Linked DNA regions of Homo sapiens: all the other regions are linked to region 4. The links are contacts of gene promoters, found by promoter capture Hi-C in blood cells and fetal thymus (Javierre and others, 2016). All regions are on one chromosome and are shown on one strand. Each heading gives the region's core, a stretch centred on a gene start or on the middle of the fragment in contact. The rest is flanking DNA. Distances are from core to core; before and after follow the strand shown.

Region 1 (2,700 bases), core at 189-2,688, 170 kb after region 4:
ACTTTTTTTAAAAAGTACAGTAAAAATAGAGTTTTATAATTTTATGGGACCACCACTGTATATGTGGTCCGTTGTTGACCAAAATGTTGTTATGCAGCACATGGCTGGAATTGCATTTGTATGACTCTCTGCAAAAAGGCAAAACTATAAGGATGGAGAGCAGATCAGTGGCAGCCAGGGATTAGGGATGGGGAGAGGGGCTGGCTACAAAAGGGCAGAGTGAGGAAGTTTTGCGTGGTGATGGGGCTGTTCTGTATCTTTATTGTGGTGACTGGATAACACCACGCATTTGTCAAACTTCATAGAACTGTACACCAAAGAGAGTGAATTTTACCTGATGTAAATTTTCAAAAACAAATGAGAGGCAGTTTCCCCACATTTTTTTTCTTCTTTTAATCTTTACAGGATAGAAATGTTTAAAAAGTTTTTATATTCTATATAGTGAAGAAAAAAGGCAGAATAATTGTGCTCATCAAACCCACAGGACACACTAAGCATGTAAAACTGGCCTTAAAACATTTTTTCTGTCTTTTCTTGGATTCTGTTTTTGTCTATTTGGCATCCTCTCATTACAGGGTCAATTACATGAGCCACATTTTCTTATTTTCTGTACTCTTGAGGCTCTGGCATTTGTGGCCTCCATGACTAGGAAGAGACTGCCCCGCCACCCCCACCCCAGGGCTAACCACTTCTTAGAGACAGGGAAGGGGTTAGCTGGGAGCAGGTCTTTCATACGCAAAACAACCAGTCTCAAATCCAAATCCCCAACCACCACCTTATCAAACTCTCACACACCAGGCCATTGTTTACCTTGCCCTAAGTCATCCCAGGGCCAGGTGCCATGTAACAAAGAGACAATCCTTATACCCCAAAGACTGCAGGAGTTATTCAAACTAGTCCATACTAAATCCTGCCTTGCTTTGCCTGCAGAACTCCAGTAAACGCTCTGTCCTAGACTTTCCTCTGCCTCCTTCTTCTGCCTCCTGACCAAAGCTTGGTGCTTCCCCAGTAGCCCATGCGGCGTGAGGTGACCCCGACCCCTGGACATGTGGATATTATAAACTTCTTCCTTCCAAGCCTGTCTCTTCCTGTGGCCCCACCAACTTTACCATACGTGCATATTCTTGTAACAATTGTTAAAAGCTAAAAATGTCTTGTTTCTTTTCCTTTTCTGTATACATTTGTGTTCTTATCTATAGATGCTTAAAACCGTTCTTTCAAAGAAATACATGGTCTTTTAACTGCACAAGAAGCATTTCCTGTATTCTGACACAAACTCCATTTTAAGCAACCAATTTCCACGATCATAGCCTCTTCAGGAGTTTTACAAGACTGCCTTGGTGACTTCACATTAACAGTTTTATGAGGCTGCTATGAGTACAGCTGTTCCAGAATAGGGAAGTGCCTGGCCAGCAACAGGGACTCAGAAACCATCTACTGGGAGGCCAAGGCAGGAGGATCACTTGAGCCCAGGAGGTTGAGGCTGCAGTGAGTCCTGATGGAGCCACGGCACTCCAGCCTGGGTGACAGAGCAAGACACAGTTTCAAACAAAACAAAACAAAAACAAACAAAAACCATTTACTACATGAAAGTACTTCCCCTCCATAGATAAAGGTAGAGGGAGGCTGTCACTTGGCTACAATTACATCCTTGACCCACCTGATTCCTATACCAGTCACACAAAATAAACTCCTTTCCCCCCAACACGTGAAAATGTAATTATCTAACTAGAAATGACCAGGAAGATGTTATAATATAAGAGAGGCTAGGAAGCTACAAAGTAAAGTGCTAATATCACAACACGTTTTAAAAATAAAGAAGATAAACTGACAGTTTGAACTGTCATTGAGAAGGCAACACGTATTGAGAAGTTAGATTTCATTAAGCTTGATAACTTCAGACTCTGCCGTTTCTGGAGCATCAGCGCTACCAGGGAGTGTGACCTTGTGCGTCAGGTGAAATGGTTACTTACGGAGTGAACTTGCATTAAAGAATGCCCTACTCAATGTGCCCAGGGTTTGGGTGACTGAGAGCTTTTTCAAAAGTTGATTTTAAGTTTAAAATTAAAAGCAGGTCAGGCAGGGAATCAACCTACACTACCACAAATAGAGGTAGCTAAAGTCAGAATATCGAGATAAAGTAGATGTTCAGTCCCTCCTAGGTGTAGATGCATCACCTGAGAAGGAGGGCATAAGTCACAAATGTATCTGTGTACATATGAGCACACCTAGATCATATGTATCATATGTATAAAACACGTGTTTTATATGCAATCAGGGAAATACGCGTGACATTTGGTCAAATGCTCAGTTCCAACTCCAAACGTTTTTGAGTGGCAAGAAGAATTGATGAGTCTTCATTTCTGAAGGGGAGTCACGAAGGGACTCGTGAAGATGATGACACGTCATCGGCTTCTTGTCAGTCTCCATCTCTTCCCAAACATCAACAGTTACTCAAGTTAGGAAAACTGAGCAAAGAACTCAGGCCTCACATTTTCCTTAAACACTCAAGTGTTTCAAAAATGAGTATTTAAAATAGAATGGGAAATTCATTTTGAGTTTGGCTAATCCCCAAAGTAGAAAAGAAAGGATTTTCAGAAATTTGATTATTAATACAGGATGGAACCAAAACAAGGAAAATAAGAGTAGGAAAGGAGAGAGAAAAATGAGAAAAATCCCTTGTCTAAGATGGCAAGTCTT
Region 2 (2,700 bases), core at 48-2,547, 210 kb after region 4:
CCAGGTTTGGGCTGTGTTCAAAGCTCTTCAACACTATCCTTTTCTCTCTCTGGAATGCTCCCTTCTGTATCTATCTGTAGCAACTGTACCATCCCCTCAAGGACATTTTGTTAGGGAGGCAGGAGCCTAGGAGAGTGAAAGTGACACAATTTTAAGTTCAGCTCCATCTTGAGAGTAACAAGGCACATTCCTTGCCAACCAGGACCCATGGTCATAAGATGTTTATGGTTGAGAAAACAGCCTAAGGATACTACAACAACAGAAAGTCCAGATGTCCCAATACCATAACAATATATGTTTTCAAAAAATTATAGTTATGCTTTGATGTTCTCACACACTAAAATGTCAAGGATAGTTTTCTTTAAATCAATAGAATAATAAGTTTTGTCACACTGTCTGCCCATCCGCACATAGGCACAGCTTAGTTTAATCTTTATATAGACAAGATCCCTATATAAGAAAAACTTAAAGTCAATGCGTTCCTCCTTTTGCTTTCTGAGGGCACCCTACTCTGTAACAGTAGTTTCTAATAAGCTTGCTTCTTTCACTGCATTTTGTGACTCTCCTTGACTTCTTTCCCACATAAGATCCAAGAACCCTCTCTTACAGGTCTGGATTGAAACCCCCTTTTTTCCTGAAGTTTTCCCTTTTTTTCCTGTCGAAGTGACTTTCTGTTTTCTGAGCTCCTATAGCACTTTGTTTACATATTTCACAAAAGATATTGATAACAGAGTCATGTAATGAGTTTCCTGCGGTCTGAGACATCGTCTTGAGGTTTTTCAGTCCTTTACAGCATCGTACACCGCACCCTACATGCTGTGGGCTCTCATAGAGGTCTGCTGAAGAATGAATTACTGTGGGAAGCCTTTCTGTACCTGCCCAACCCACTCACAATGCGAGATCCTAATTAATTTCAGGCACAAAGATAGCATTTCCCAACCCCAAGTATCCTGCCATTTTCCTATTCTAGTGTATCAATTCTTTTTTATCCATCCACGAGCCCTCTGCCACCTGTCTATAAAACATTTTGCAATTGGGAAGGACTCTGGTACTGGATAACTATGTAACGTACAAAAAGATGCAAATTGTGATAAACAGGAGTCATAAAACGAACAAGGGTGGTTTCATTCTTTGAAATCTGACATGGAAATTAGACATAGGTCCAAGTCAAGTTCCCCTTTCAGGCCTTCTCACCCTTTGTCTCCACTTTTTGTGGAAAGGAACAGGGGAGGGGCAGCAAGTAGTGTGAGCAAAAGCGGAAGAAGAAAGGCGAGGGGAAGAACTGGCCAGACAGCCACTCTTTCCCGAAAGACAAACAGCATTCTAGGAAAAGAAAATATTCCCTAGGTCACAAGAAATTGTACCAGGAGCCTACAGTAGAACAAAGAAATCCAAAACAGAAGCCCCTGTTTGATCTCCTCATCTCCATCTGTGAGATAGGGGTGATAACCCTGCCTGCTTCTTGCCACACAGTCCGGGGGGCTGAGCTATCTTCAGCGTGATTTGGAAAAGGCTGCAAATGCAAAAGGAAAATCCTCCATTTAACTTAGCATTTGACTGTATCCCTGGGGATTAAGTAAAACTAGACATCGAATTTAAAACAAATATAAGGAGAATGGGGACAGGGGACACTCCTCCTATTGTCTACATCCCTATTCACCCTCTTCCTTGCCGCTCCCACAGAAGTTGCTAAACTGATGGGATATTGTCCTGAAATGCCACTGGGCCAAAGACAGAGTTCAAGTTCAACTTCTTAAAACCCAGGTTGATAAAGGCAGGAATGAAGAGCTGGGGTTCCCCTCCGTCAGGGTCCCCCTTCTCACTGTAGGAATGGAAAAACTTCACCTCTATTGTCTTAGGGTCCTGGCTGGGTCCAAGAGTTAAATCGACAAAACACAGATTAACATGAGAAAAGCATAGACATTTATTCATAAATGTTTTACATGGCACAAGAGCCCTCATAAAGAAATGAAGACCCAAAGAATCAGTTAGAGTCAGTTACTTCTATACTGGATTGAACAAAGAATAATAAACTATGAAAATGTGACTAAATTATGTGGGGAAGCTTAAAAAATAGAATTTCTAACAAGGTCTGTGCAATATTCTCTAAGTTACCTTTCCTTCTAGTCCCTAGAGAGTGTCTTTCACATAGGAATTCCATCTTCTCCTCTTAAGAAACAGCACAAAGGTCAAAGTGATATTCTTGTACCTGCTGTTTTTCAAGTGCTTTTAACTTAAATAGTCAATATTCCAGAATGGCATTTTTAAATTTTTACTTTAAGTTTTGGGATACATGTACAGAACATGCAGGTTTGTTACATAGGTATACATGTGCCACAGTGGTTTGCTGCACCTGTCAACCCATCATCCAGGTTTTAAGACCCGCATGCATTAGGTATTTGTCCTAATGCTCTCCTTCCCCTCGTCCCCGACCCTCCAACAAGCCCCGGTATGTGATGTTCCCCTCCCTGTGTCCATGTGTTCTCATTGTTCAACTCCTGCTTATGAGTGAGAACATGTGGTGTTTGGTTTTCTGTTCCTGTGTTAGTTTGCTGAGGATGATGGCTCCCAGCTTCATCCATGTCCCTGCAAAGGACATGAACTCATTCTTTTTTATGGCGCATAGTACAGAATAGCATATTTTAACCCCTTCATCACCCTACAACAAATACCATTTGTTTGGAATGACTCATTATCAAA
Region 3 (2,700 bases), core at 86-2,585, 250 kb after region 4:
CTACCTCCCCATTAGACCGCAGGCTCCAGAAGGACATTCCTTCATTCCTCCTGGCCCCCATTACACCTGAGGAGCTGCGCAGGATGCTGCGGCTGCAGCAGTGGAGGTGGTGGCCTGGTTCTGGCCCCTAGGGACCTATGGCCATGGGCAGGGGTTATCCCCACTCCTTCATATCCCATCCTTAGACCTGGCCCAGTGCCCAGCTCCCGCAGGCCTTCATGAAATATGGTTAGTCTTAAATTGGGGATTAAAGAGGAGAAACAGGCAGAAGGACCTCTTTCCCCACAGCAATTTAATTAATTCTAGCTTCCCAGGGTATTGAAAGAGAAAGCTAAAATGAATGTGAACTGATCTAACAATAGGTAGAAAAAAACAGACACACAATCCAAAACCTGGGCTGGACAGGTTCAGTTCAAATAACTGAACAAAGAAATCCAGAGGCAACTCTTCTAAGCCTCTGTGCTCATTTTGAACACCTGTAGTTTGTCCACATGCATACAGTTTGTACTTATAACTCCCTCACAGTAAAGTCCTCTAAATACAGAAAGTCTTCTATACTAAATAAAAGTGCATAGTGGTGCTGCCACCTTGCCATGATAATGGGAGGTTATAACTTTATTAGATTATTAGACTTTTTGTTTGTTTAAGACTCTAGTGCTTAGCATGGGAAATGCAATTAGGCAAACATTTCTTCCTTAACAGGCTTATTATCCTTATTTAAGAATTATGTATGTATTATTTCTGCATGTTTAAAGACTACAAAGTAAATCCTCTAGCTTTAGCTAACAGTTTTTCTTTGGAAGAAAGTGACTATTAATAAGCCAACTTTTCGAGTGGCTCATAAAATACTTAAGATTCAGGGATTAATGCTTTCATTTTCTATTTGATTTTTTCAAAAGATTTTTCAAAACTCAGTAATAGCACTTTGTCATTTACTGGTTTATATATCACTTTGTCATGGGAAATTAAAGCAAATGTGAGCATTCAAATGCCTCAAAGCCAGCCAGACCTGACTTTTGATTCTGACGTTTCCTCTTGCTATGACCTTGGGCAAGCTTCCTAACCTGCTTAAGCCTCAAATTTCTCCTCCATATAAATAGACTGCACTTACCATTAAACTTAATTAAATAAAAATGTACATAATAAAGCACAACTTGTGACACTAAAAGGCAGGAAATAAATGGTAGCTAAAATTTCTTTTTTTTTTTTTTTTTTTTGAGATGGAGTTTCTGCTCTGTTGCCCAGGCTGGAGTGCGATGGTGAAATCTCAGCTCACTGCAACCTCCACTTCCTGGGTTCAAGTGATTCTCCAGCCTCAGCCTTCTGAGTAGCTGGTATTACAGGTGCCCATGACCATGCCTGGATAATTTTTGTATTTTGTAGTAGAGGCGAGGTTTCACCATGTTGGTCAGGCTGGACTCAAACTCTTAACCTCAGGTTATCCAGCCACCTTGGCTTCCCAAAGTGCTAGGATTACAAGCGTGAGCCACTGAACCCAGCCAATAACATCATTTTAAATGTTATTTCCATATCCTCTAGCCTTTCCCAATCTCTTAACTCCTAGAAAAGGATCTATATGAGGAAGGAAAAACAGTGAGACACCATAGGTCTGCCTTCAAGCTTGAGGTCATTCTTTCTTTCAAGGTAAAGCTCACTGTTGAGCTTTGTTGTCCAAGGAAGGGTTGTTGACCATGGAAGCCTAGGCAGAGACTACAATAAATTGGACAACTAGTGCAGAAAGACCAATGCAATCTCTAAAAGTGGCTATTCCCCTTATCCCGCCAATTAAATAGCTTTCCCCTCTCCATCTATCTAAATCTTTTCCTTCCTTCAAGATCAGCTCAAGTCACATCTCATATGAAGCTTTTTCCAGTCACTGAAGCTCACAATAACTTCAGCCTCCAAACTCTCACAGCACTATCTATATTGGCAATTGATCAAGCATCAACTTGTGACTTTTTGCAGTCTTTCTTAATATAACTATCATATTGGGCCTTGAACTCCCCTCCAGTCCAGTGGCCTACAAGCGTCCTCTCCAAACCCCTCAGATCATTTGTTATCTGGATAAAGCAGGGACCCATGGGTGACTCAGCCAGTGTTAAGAGCTCAGGCCCTCAGATTCCCCATAATTCTCTCCCCATGACAGCTTGTGGGCCATATGCCCGGGCCAGTGCCTTGGTCGTGGTGGGTGCTGTCTAAATACCATCCGTTCATTGACCAGTGACATCTTAATGTAGTTATGGTGCCCGAGCACCTAGGCAGTCACACAGGGGAGGTGGCACACTGAATATGGGGCAAGGTTCCTGTTTTTCCCAGGCCAGCCTGTAAAACCGTCTAAGTATTTTACATTCTTAATGATTCTAAAAGTTGAAAGCATAATGCCAGTACTTCCCAAGTTATTAGACTTGTTTTAGGGTGACTGTTCACCCCAAAGCCCTCTTCCCCAAGGACTTCTACCCCCATCCCAAGATCCAGCCACTCTCTAAATCCACAGCTGAATAAAGAGCTGATCTGCAGAGAAAAGCAGAAGAATGGTATAGACACAGGAGGGAAGCAGAGCACAGTGACCAGGTGACACCAGAGAGAGAACAGCTGTCTTAGCTCCTGACTGTGCACCTTGCTGATGAGGCCCAGGGGGACCTCCTGCTCTGAGGTTCTGTGAGATACTCCCTAGCTTGGAGAGCACTCAGCACAGACTAG
Region 4 (2,700 bases), core at 166-2,665:
AAAGGAACCGGTAATGTGGGCATTTTCTCTCCACTTGCCCTTGCATTTGTCAATACTCACTGTATTTTTATTTTTATTTATTTATTTTTTTTGAGACAGAGTCTCACTGTTACCTAGGTTGGAGTGCAGTGGCATGATCTTGGCTTACTGCAACCTCCGCCTCTTGGGTTCAAGTGATTCTCCTGCCTCAGTCTCCCGAGTACCTGGGATTACAGGCGCCCACAACCATGCCCGGCTAATTTCTGTATTTTTAGTAGAGGCGGGGTTTCACCGGTGGCCAGGCTAGTCTCGAACTCCTGACCTCAAGTGATCCGCCGGCCTCAGCCTCCCAAAGTGCTGGGATTGCAGGTGTGAGCCACCACGCCTGGCCTGTCAATACCATTGTGTTTCTGAGCCTATCCATCCATTCAAGGAGCGCTCACATACAGGTCACTGTGGGTTACCGCTAGGCTGAGATTGTTTTGCTTTTTTAATAGCTTGCCCTGTGGAGCGTGATGATGACTTCCTCTTCTGTCCCCTAAAAGAACCTGAAACTGTAAGTGTGAAAGTGTGGCGCAGGGGAGAACTGCCTAGGCAAGGGCAGCTGGCACGACCCTTCTCACCTCTTCCCTAACATTCCTAGCATTCATGTTACAAGCAAGGGCCACCGCGCCCCCTGCTTGAGCATGTTAGCCGGGCGGTAGGGACGGAGACAGTTCTCTCATGACGTTCGAGTAACCAGGAAACTTCATCACAGGGACAACACCACAGCACCCGAGGACTCAATGTCTAGGGGGAAAAGCTCTGGAGAAAGCGGAGGGTCGGATCATAAAATAATCATAAACTCAGCGTCCCAGACGGCATCTGGGATGGGAAGTACAATGATCATTTAAAAAAAAAAAAGTCTTTGACACTCTTCCTACACCTTTCTGAAATGGCACAATCTGTCAGACCACATCTGATGCAAGGAAAAGCAAGACAGGAGCGCTTTTCCCGGATAACAAAGCCAAGACTCCCATTCCTAAACCCTAGCTCAGGTCTCCATCTCTTAAATCCGAGTGACCTCTACAAACTCTCCCTGAGAAGGTGTCCAGAACCCTTTTGGAAGCGAGGGACAGTGTCACTGTCTTTGGGGTTGACACCTGCTCTGAGTAACTCACGGAAAACAAGTTCCAGCTGGGAAGCCCTTGGACGCGCCACACCTCCCTACCCGCAGCCCGTCCTGTGGCGCCCGGGACTCCAGAGTGCGTTTAGATGAAAGGGGACCGACACGTCAGGGCCACCGCGGGAAGCGCTGAGGGCCACTCACCGGCCAGGGACGCGAAGAGCGCGGCCGCCGCGCTGAGCTGCCGGGGCATGGTGGGCGCTGGGCGAGGTTCTGCAGCGTGCGGCGAAGTCCGGGCAGGCCCCGAATCGGTGCCAGAGAAACCTACCTGTGCCGGAGAAACGAAACCACCTGCTTATGAGAAGCAGCCGAAAAGCCCGCCCAGGGCCGCTGGGCGGGGAGGGAAACTCCGCCGGCCCCCTCCTACCCCTACGGAGCAGGGAGGGGCGGGGACTCGGCGCAGCCGCCGGGGCCCGGGCCTCTGGGACCGTTTACCGCACGCGCGTGGTCCCGGCAGCGCCGGCCTCCTCCGCTCATACCCTGGGTCTCCTCCTTTCTTTTTCTTTTCTTTTTGAGACGAAGTCTCGCTCTGTCGCCCAGGGTGGAGTGCAGTGGCGCGATCTCGGCTCACTACAACCTCTGCCTCCCGGGTTCAAGCGATTCTTCTGCCTCAGCCTCCCGAGTAGCTGGGATTACAGGCATGCACCACCACACCCGGCTAATTTTTGTATTTTTAGTAGAGACGGGGTGTCACCATATTGGCCAGGCTGGTCTCGAGCTCCTGACCTCGTGATTCGCCCGCCTCGACCTCCCAAAGTGCTGGGATTATAGACGTGAGCCACCGAGCCCGGCCAGGGTCTCCTCTTTTATTTCTTTTCTTTTTATTTCTTTTGTTTTGTTTTGTTTTGTTTTGTTTTTTGAGACAAAGTCTCGCTCTGTCGCCAGGCTGGAGTGCAGTGGCGGGATCTCGGCTCACTGCCCTGGTTCAAGCGATTCTCCTGCCGCAGCCTCCCGAGTAGCTGGGGTTACAGGCGCCCGCCACCACGCCCAGCTAATTTTTGTATTTTAGTAGAGACGGGGTTTCACCCTGTTGGCCAGGCTGGTCTCGATCTCCTGACCTTGTGATCCGCCCGCCTCGGCCTCCCAAAGTGTTGGGATTACAGGCGTGAGCCACTGCGCCCGGCCCAGGGTCTCCTCTTTTCTAACAGCTCGGGTACCTTTCTGGGAACCCAGAGACGCTTCTCAGCCGGGAGAAAGCCAGCCACTAGGCGAGCAGGAGCCTAAAAACCCCTAAGCACCCTGACTCCATGTCTTCCCAGGGAGTCTGCGGCAGCCGCGCTCCACGCCCAGGCCTCGCCAGGACCGCGGTTTGCGGGAAGCAACAGGAGCACAGCCCAGAGGCGCTAGGTCTGGCTGGGAGCTCGCGCTGCCGACTCCCCGGCGTGCGGCGTCGGGGAACCTCTAGGAGCCTTGGATTCTTCAGCTGTAAAACGGACATAATAATGCCCACTCCCAGTGTGTTTTTTTATTTTCTTTTTTCTTTTTCTTTCTTTGTTTTTGTTTGTTTGTTTTTGTTTTTGTTTTTGAGACAGGGTCTCACTCTGTCGCCCAGGCTG
Region 5 (2,700 bases), core at 197-2,696, 150 kb after region 4:
AAAATATAGAGAACCTAATTTCAAACAAGCAGAAAGGAACTTCTCTGGAAAGAGACGACTCAGCTTTCTTCATTTGTAATAAACCAAATCTGTAAACACTTAAAATGGAATCATTTCTAAATGCTGACTTGTGTGCGGATCTGGGACACTGTTTAATTCCAGTATGGGACTGTAAAATACATATTCTTTTACAAGTTTCACATTTACAACTCTTGGGACATGAGAAAGGAGAAAGCTTTGCCAATTCTGTGTAGCAATGGAACTAACATGGACCAATTTCCCCCATCTAATTGTCTTGCTCCAGGTATAAAACTAGTTGTTTTTTTTTTTCTGGTTTCTCCTTTGAAAGTTTCCCATCCTTACTACCAACCCCACAACCCCCAGCCCCCTAGTCCAGGCTCCAGGGAGGAGCTCAAGCTGATGGGTGAGCCTCTGATATAATTGTTCTGGTGAGTGATGAGCCTGTTGTGACCTTCTCCCACTTGGCTGCTGACCACGTGAGAGGGCAGGGCTGGTCCAGAGTCCTCACCCGACCTGAGCGTCCAACTGCAACTGTATGTTCCGGCAGCTTTAATAGGACTCTGTGCTGCCCGTATTATTCATAGCAGTTGTTAATGTGCCTCTCTCCTTGGGATCCTGGGGTGACTGAAGGGCAGGACTGGGCATTCCTGTGTCCTTTAGCAACCTTCCAATAGCAATGACTGGACATGATCCATCATTGTCCACAGCAACCTCCCTCCCAGTACACAAAAATGTCAGAAAGCAAACCTGGCTTTTTTCCTCCAGTTTTTTGTGTTCCTTAAGAATCTGCTCCACGTGCATCACGCTGTCTCCAATGCCTGTAAACTCTGCTTGCTCTTCCAGCAAATTATCCAGGGCAAGCTTAGCCTACAAGAAACATTAGAACAGTCCAGAAGTAAACCAACACTCACTCACCTGAAGGTATAGGTTTGTTATGCTTCAAGAAAACTCAAAATTCCAAAAAGGATTCAAGACTTGTATATATCTATATATGTTAAAAATTTTTTTTTTGCAGCTCACTAACTTTCAAATTAAGCTGGGGGTGCAGAATTCACCTGTAGCTGAACTATTAGAACTATATTCAACAGATAATCAATCAAAAAGGAAGACAGCTGGGTCCAGTGGCTCATGCCTATAATCACAGCACTTTGGGAGGCTGAGGCAGGAGGATTGTTTGTGCTTGGAAGTTCGAGGCCAGCCTGGGCAACATAGGGAGACCTCGTCTCTGCAAAAATATTTAAAAATTATCTGGGCCGGGCGCAGTGGCTCACGCCTGTAATCCCAGCACTTTGGGAGACCGAGGCAGGTAGGTCACAGAGGTCAGGAGATTGAGACCATCCTGGCTAACACAGTGAAACCCCATCTCTACCAAAAATACAAAAAATTAGCTGAGTGTGGTGGTGGGCACCTGTAGTCCCAGCTACTCAGGAGGCTGAGGCAGGAGAATCGCTTGAACCTGGGAGGCGGAGGTTGCAGTGAGCTGAGATCGCGCCATTGCACTCCAGCCTGGGCAACAGAGTGAGACTCCAACTCAAAAAAAAAATTACCGGGTGTGATGGTGGGGCATGCCTGTAATTCCAGCTACTTGGGAGGCTGAGGTGGGAGGATAGCTTGAGCCCAGAAGATCAAAGCTGCAGTGAGCCATGATCACACCACTGCACTCCGGCCGGAGTGACAGAGCAAGACCCTGTTTCAAAAAAAAAAGGAAGATAAACCATCACTGAAATGCCATGTACATCAACAGGTAAATGGGATTCTAGAACAGTTTGACTCCACTGAAAAAGTGAGAAGGGGGTTGGAGGGGGTGGTCTGTAAAGAAGCAAGGAGATAAGGAGAAAGCTGGATTAGGGAAAAGAGGGAAACCCCATACCAAAGAGTGAGGAGGGAGAGAAAACCAGAGGTCCCGGTACCAGAAAAGAAAGTTACAGTAAACAAGAAAAGAATACCTTACAAAAATCGTGCTCAAAATGCTGTAGTTGTAGGCACTGGTTAAGCTTCAGATGATGCTCAGACCAAAAGTGACTAAAGGCTTTTTCTGTTTCATCCAGTTGAACTAATAACCTTTCAAGAAAGAATGAGAAAGTGATGTTAGGTTAGCATTCATTTCCACAGGCATCCATATAGGCCTATGGCTAGAACACCTGTGTCTTCGGTCAGTGGTGTCAATTGTGACCATCTCATTATTATGAAAGCATGTGTCACCTATGCCTTTCTTCTGGCTCAGCAGGCTTTGCACCTTTCATTTTCCAATCAGGACATCCACAGTGCAGGCAGTGACTTTGCTTCAGATGCAGCTGCTGTGCTTTAGAATGTGCTCCGGCTGATCTTACCTTCATGCCTTCTTTCTTTCTACCTGAGACTACACGAATATAAAGCACAGCTCCAAGCTAAACTGTTACTTGGAAATGAAGCCCAGTAAATACTACCCTCTCCCTCAAAATCCTAGGGTGGGAACATGTCATATACATTGAAGAGGGGGGAATAGAATGCTCATAAAAAGATCTCTGTATGTGGATGCCAGACGGACGTATTCTTTTTTCCTTTGTTGTCTCAAATATTCTTCTTCCTTGGCCCCACCAAGACCCAATATTGGCTGTTCCAATCTGTTCTTGGTTGCTCCAGAACATCTAGGTCTACATATTCTCTCCTGAAAAGGCTGATTCCACTTCACTCACTCAC
Region 6 (2,722 bases), core at 122-2,621, 190 kb after region 4:
CTAGTACAGCGTCACATGACAGCAGGCCCTGAAAGAAATAGAATTATTTTTTCTGCAAAATATATTTCTTTGCCATATTTTGAAATGATCCCGCAAAGCTGTCTCTTGTGGGGAAAATCTACATTCTGCAGAGAATCCCCTTCCCTTTCCAGGTCTTTTCCTGATCCAGGAGAGAGATTTAACTGAGAGTCTGGCACCTTTTACGGTCTGATAAGGGACATTTACCATCTATTCTCTCTAAAGCCTGCTACATACCAAGAACCTTGGCTTCCACAACCTGCACCCTCCCACCCCACCCCACTTATCTTAACCCCCAGCATTTCTTTCTGCTGACTTCTACTCTTTAGATAATAACTTAACCATTTCAACCAATTACCAATCAGAAAATGTTTGAATCCACCTATGATCTGTAAGTCTCTCACCCAGTGGTTCAAGTTTTCAAGTTGTCTCACCTTTCTGGACCAAACCAATGTACATCTTACATGTATTGATTGTTGTTTGCCTGTAACTCCTGTCTCCCTAAAATGTATAAAATCAAGCTATTACCCAATGACCTTGGGCACATGTTCTTAGGACCTCCTGAGGCTGTGTCATGGCGTCGTGGTCCTTACATTTGGCTCAGAATAAAGTTCTTCAAATATTTTACAGAGTTTGGCCCTTTTGAGTCAACATAGGTATGTTACTGATCAATAACGTAGTCCCTATAAGCATGCAAAGGGAATAAATCCATCATGAATGCATGAATAAATACAGAAATAAATGTAAGAATTAAAGCATGTTTCCAGGTCTTTGTACTGTGTGAAGTGATATAAAATAATTGTTTAAAGCACTGGCATAAAATGCTTCTATTTATTTTAATAATATTATTTATTATTCATTATATTATTTATTATTTATTTTATTTTATTTTCATAAGTCTAATGGATCCCATCCCCTCCACACACTCCACCACAACTTTCTTTACATGATATTGATTTCTAGAATTTACATGAAATGTTTGAAAATGAAAAAAACTAGGGGATTGTGAGGAGGAAGCAAGAGACAGGTAATGTCACTAGAAAAGGATCAGATCTTGTTGCTTGTGGATATGAATGAATTCCTCTTTCTAAGGATACTGACCTTAGAAAATGGAGGGGAAAATGCTTGAAGGCCTCTTAGAGGCAACTCCAACACAGTCTTACTCTTTCAGTAGAGGGGGGCAGAAAGCAGGAATAGCAAAATAATTACTTAGCTACCATAATCAACAATTCCTTTCCTTTTTTTTTTTTTTGAGACGGAGTCTCGCTCTGTCGCATAGGTGGAGTGCCGTGGCGCGATCTCGGCTCACTGCAAGCTCCGCCTCCCGGGTTCACACCATTCTCCTGCCTCAGCCTCCCGAGTAGCTGGGACTACAGGCGCCCGCCACCACGCCCAGCTAATTTTTTTTTTTTTTTTTTTTTTTTTGGTATTTTTAGTAGAGACAGGGTTTCACCGTGTTAGCCAGGATGGTCTTGATCTCCTGACCTCGTGATCCGCCTGCCTCGGCCTCCCAAAGTGCTGGGATTACAGGCGTGAGCCACCGCACCCGGCCATCAACAATGCTTTTCAAGTCCACACCAGTCACCTGAGGGTCCTGTTAAACATAGCAATTTCAAGTCATGAAGCTAGGGGTGATGCCCCAGATTCTGCATTTCTGACAGGCTTCCAGGTGATGTTCATTCTGGGGCCTCACTTGGAGTGACTAGGGCAGTGGGCCCCTCCTTCCCCCCTCCCCTCCCCTTGTGAATAAAGAGCAGCTGGCTGTAGCATTTGCCCCATCTGCAGCCTTGCAAACCTCTTCCTTCACAAAGTAGATTTGCCAGGACAGTGCCTAGGCTATAGGAGTTGAAGCTAAGGAGGAGGAAGAGCAGTGCCTGAAGAAACTTCAGACCATATGCAAGAAAGACTCAAAAGAAGAATACAAAGAGCAGGTCTTTCTAGAAATAAAATTGACTTAAAAAAAAAAAAAAAACTCTGCCTCTAGAGCAAAGTACTCTTTATTATAAAAAAAAAAAGTATTGCCGGGCATTGTAGCTCACACCTGTAATCCCAGCACTTTGGGAGGCCAAGGCAGGCTGATCACGAGGTCAAGAGATTGAGACCATCCTGGCCAACACGGTGAAACCCTGTCTCTACTAAAAATATAAAAATTAGTTGGGCGTGGTGGCATGCACCTGTAGTCCCAGCTACTCAGGAGGTTGAAGCAGGAGAATTGTTTGAACCCGGGAGGCAGAGGTTGCAGTGAGTCGAGATTGCGCCACTGCACTCCAGCCTGGCAACAGAGCAAGACTCCGTCTCAAAATAAATAAATAAATAAAATAAAAGTATTGCCTACTCCCTAATCAAGCATCCCTAAAGGAAAATCTATTTATAGGACCCACTCACTGTTGCAGAGTCTACTGACCTCAATTTCCTCCCATTCAAGTGCAAGTACCTTGGTTAAACAGAGCTACCCAATTGCAAAGGAAATCCAAGTCAGATAATTATATTTACAACATAACCCTTCAAAAATATAAAAAGGCAACCAAAGATCTTCTGAATTGAATAAAAGCAAAGCATCAAAGAGAAAGACTGAGGTGAACAAACAGAACAGCCAATCTAGAAACAATGAAAACAACTACAAAAAAGTTTATATTTTTTCTAGTCAGTAATCTCAGACTGTTGAAAGAATACTCCATCCATAAAACAAGAATACACTCTTATG

The links. The method cuts DNA at HindIII sites, captures the fragments that hold promoters and counts their contacts. A CHiCAGO score of 5 or more calls a contact.
Region 1: a fragment that was not itself captured here is called in contact with the fragment with the promoter of LAMP3 in region 4 in 1 of 17 cell types (activated CD4 T cells); the score reaches 5.5 in activated CD4 T cells.
Region 2: a fragment that was not itself captured here is called in contact with the fragment with the promoter of LAMP3 in region 4 in 17 of 17 cell types (activated CD4 T cells, naive B cells, naive CD4 T cells and 14 more); the score reaches 19.8 in activated CD4 T cells.
Region 3: a contact is called between a fragment that was not itself captured here and the fragment with the promoter of LAMP3 in region 4, in 12 of 17 cell types (erythroblasts, M1 macrophages, M2 macrophages and 9 more). The highest score is 12.6, in erythroblasts.
Region 5: a fragment that was not itself captured here is called in contact with the fragment with the promoter of LAMP3 in region 4 in 1 of 17 cell types (M1 macrophages); the score reaches 5.1 in M1 macrophages.
Region 6: a fragment that was not itself captured here is called in contact with the fragment with the promoter of LAMP3 in region 4 in 3 of 17 cell types (neutrophils, total B cells and activated CD4 T cells); the score reaches 5.7 in neutrophils.

What each region holds. Positions count from the first base shown.
Region 1 is chr3:183,330,311-183,333,010 of GRCh38, forward strand. All of the region lies in intron 5 of MCF2L2 (MCF.2 cell line derived transforming sequence-like 2), which reads right to left. Among named protein-coding and RNA genes, the nearest start is that of B3GNT5, 78 kb to the left of the region's middle. The HindIII fragment of the contact is 894 bases long and covers 992-1,885 here.
Region 2 is chr3:183,374,769-183,377,468 of GRCh38, forward strand. All of the region lies in intron 3 of MCF2L2 (MCF.2 cell line derived transforming sequence-like 2), which reads right to left. Among named protein-coding and RNA genes, the nearest start is that of MCF2L2, 52 kb to the right of the region's middle. RefSeq lists silencers at 2,588-2,647, 2,698-2,700. The HindIII fragment of the contact is 1,531 bases long and covers 533-2,063 here.
Region 3 is chr3:183,408,355-183,411,054 of GRCh38, forward strand. The region is part of intron 1 of MCF2L2 (MCF.2 cell line derived transforming sequence-like 2); the gene reads right to left. Among named protein-coding and RNA genes, the nearest start is that of MCF2L2, 19 kb to the right of the region's middle. The HindIII fragment of the contact is 565 bases long and covers 1,054-1,618 here.
Region 4 is chr3:183,161,319-183,164,018 of GRCh38, forward strand. LAMP3 (lysosomal associated membrane protein 3) reads right to left here and starts at 1,416. Exons shown (of 6, transcript NM_014398.4): 1 at 1,289-1,416. The coding sequence starts at 1,337. RefSeq lists an enhancer at 595-804 and a silencer at 1,417-1,626. The HindIII fragment of the contact is 7,998 bases long and covers 1-2,700 here.
Region 5 is chr3:183,308,948-183,311,647 of GRCh38, forward strand. MCF2L2 (MCF.2 cell line derived transforming sequence-like 2) reads right to left here. Exons shown (of 30, transcript NM_015078.4): 9 at 1,968-2,082; 10 at 769-888. Among named protein-coding and RNA genes, the nearest start is that of B3GNT5, 57 kb to the left of the region's middle. The HindIII fragment of the contact is 1,133 bases long and covers 881-2,013 here.
Region 6 is chr3:183,354,196-183,356,917 of GRCh38, forward strand. All of the region lies in intron 3 of MCF2L2 (MCF.2 cell line derived transforming sequence-like 2), which reads right to left. Among named protein-coding and RNA genes, the nearest start is that of MCF2L2, 73 kb to the right of the region's middle. The HindIII fragment of the contact is 4,685 bases long and covers 1-2,722 here.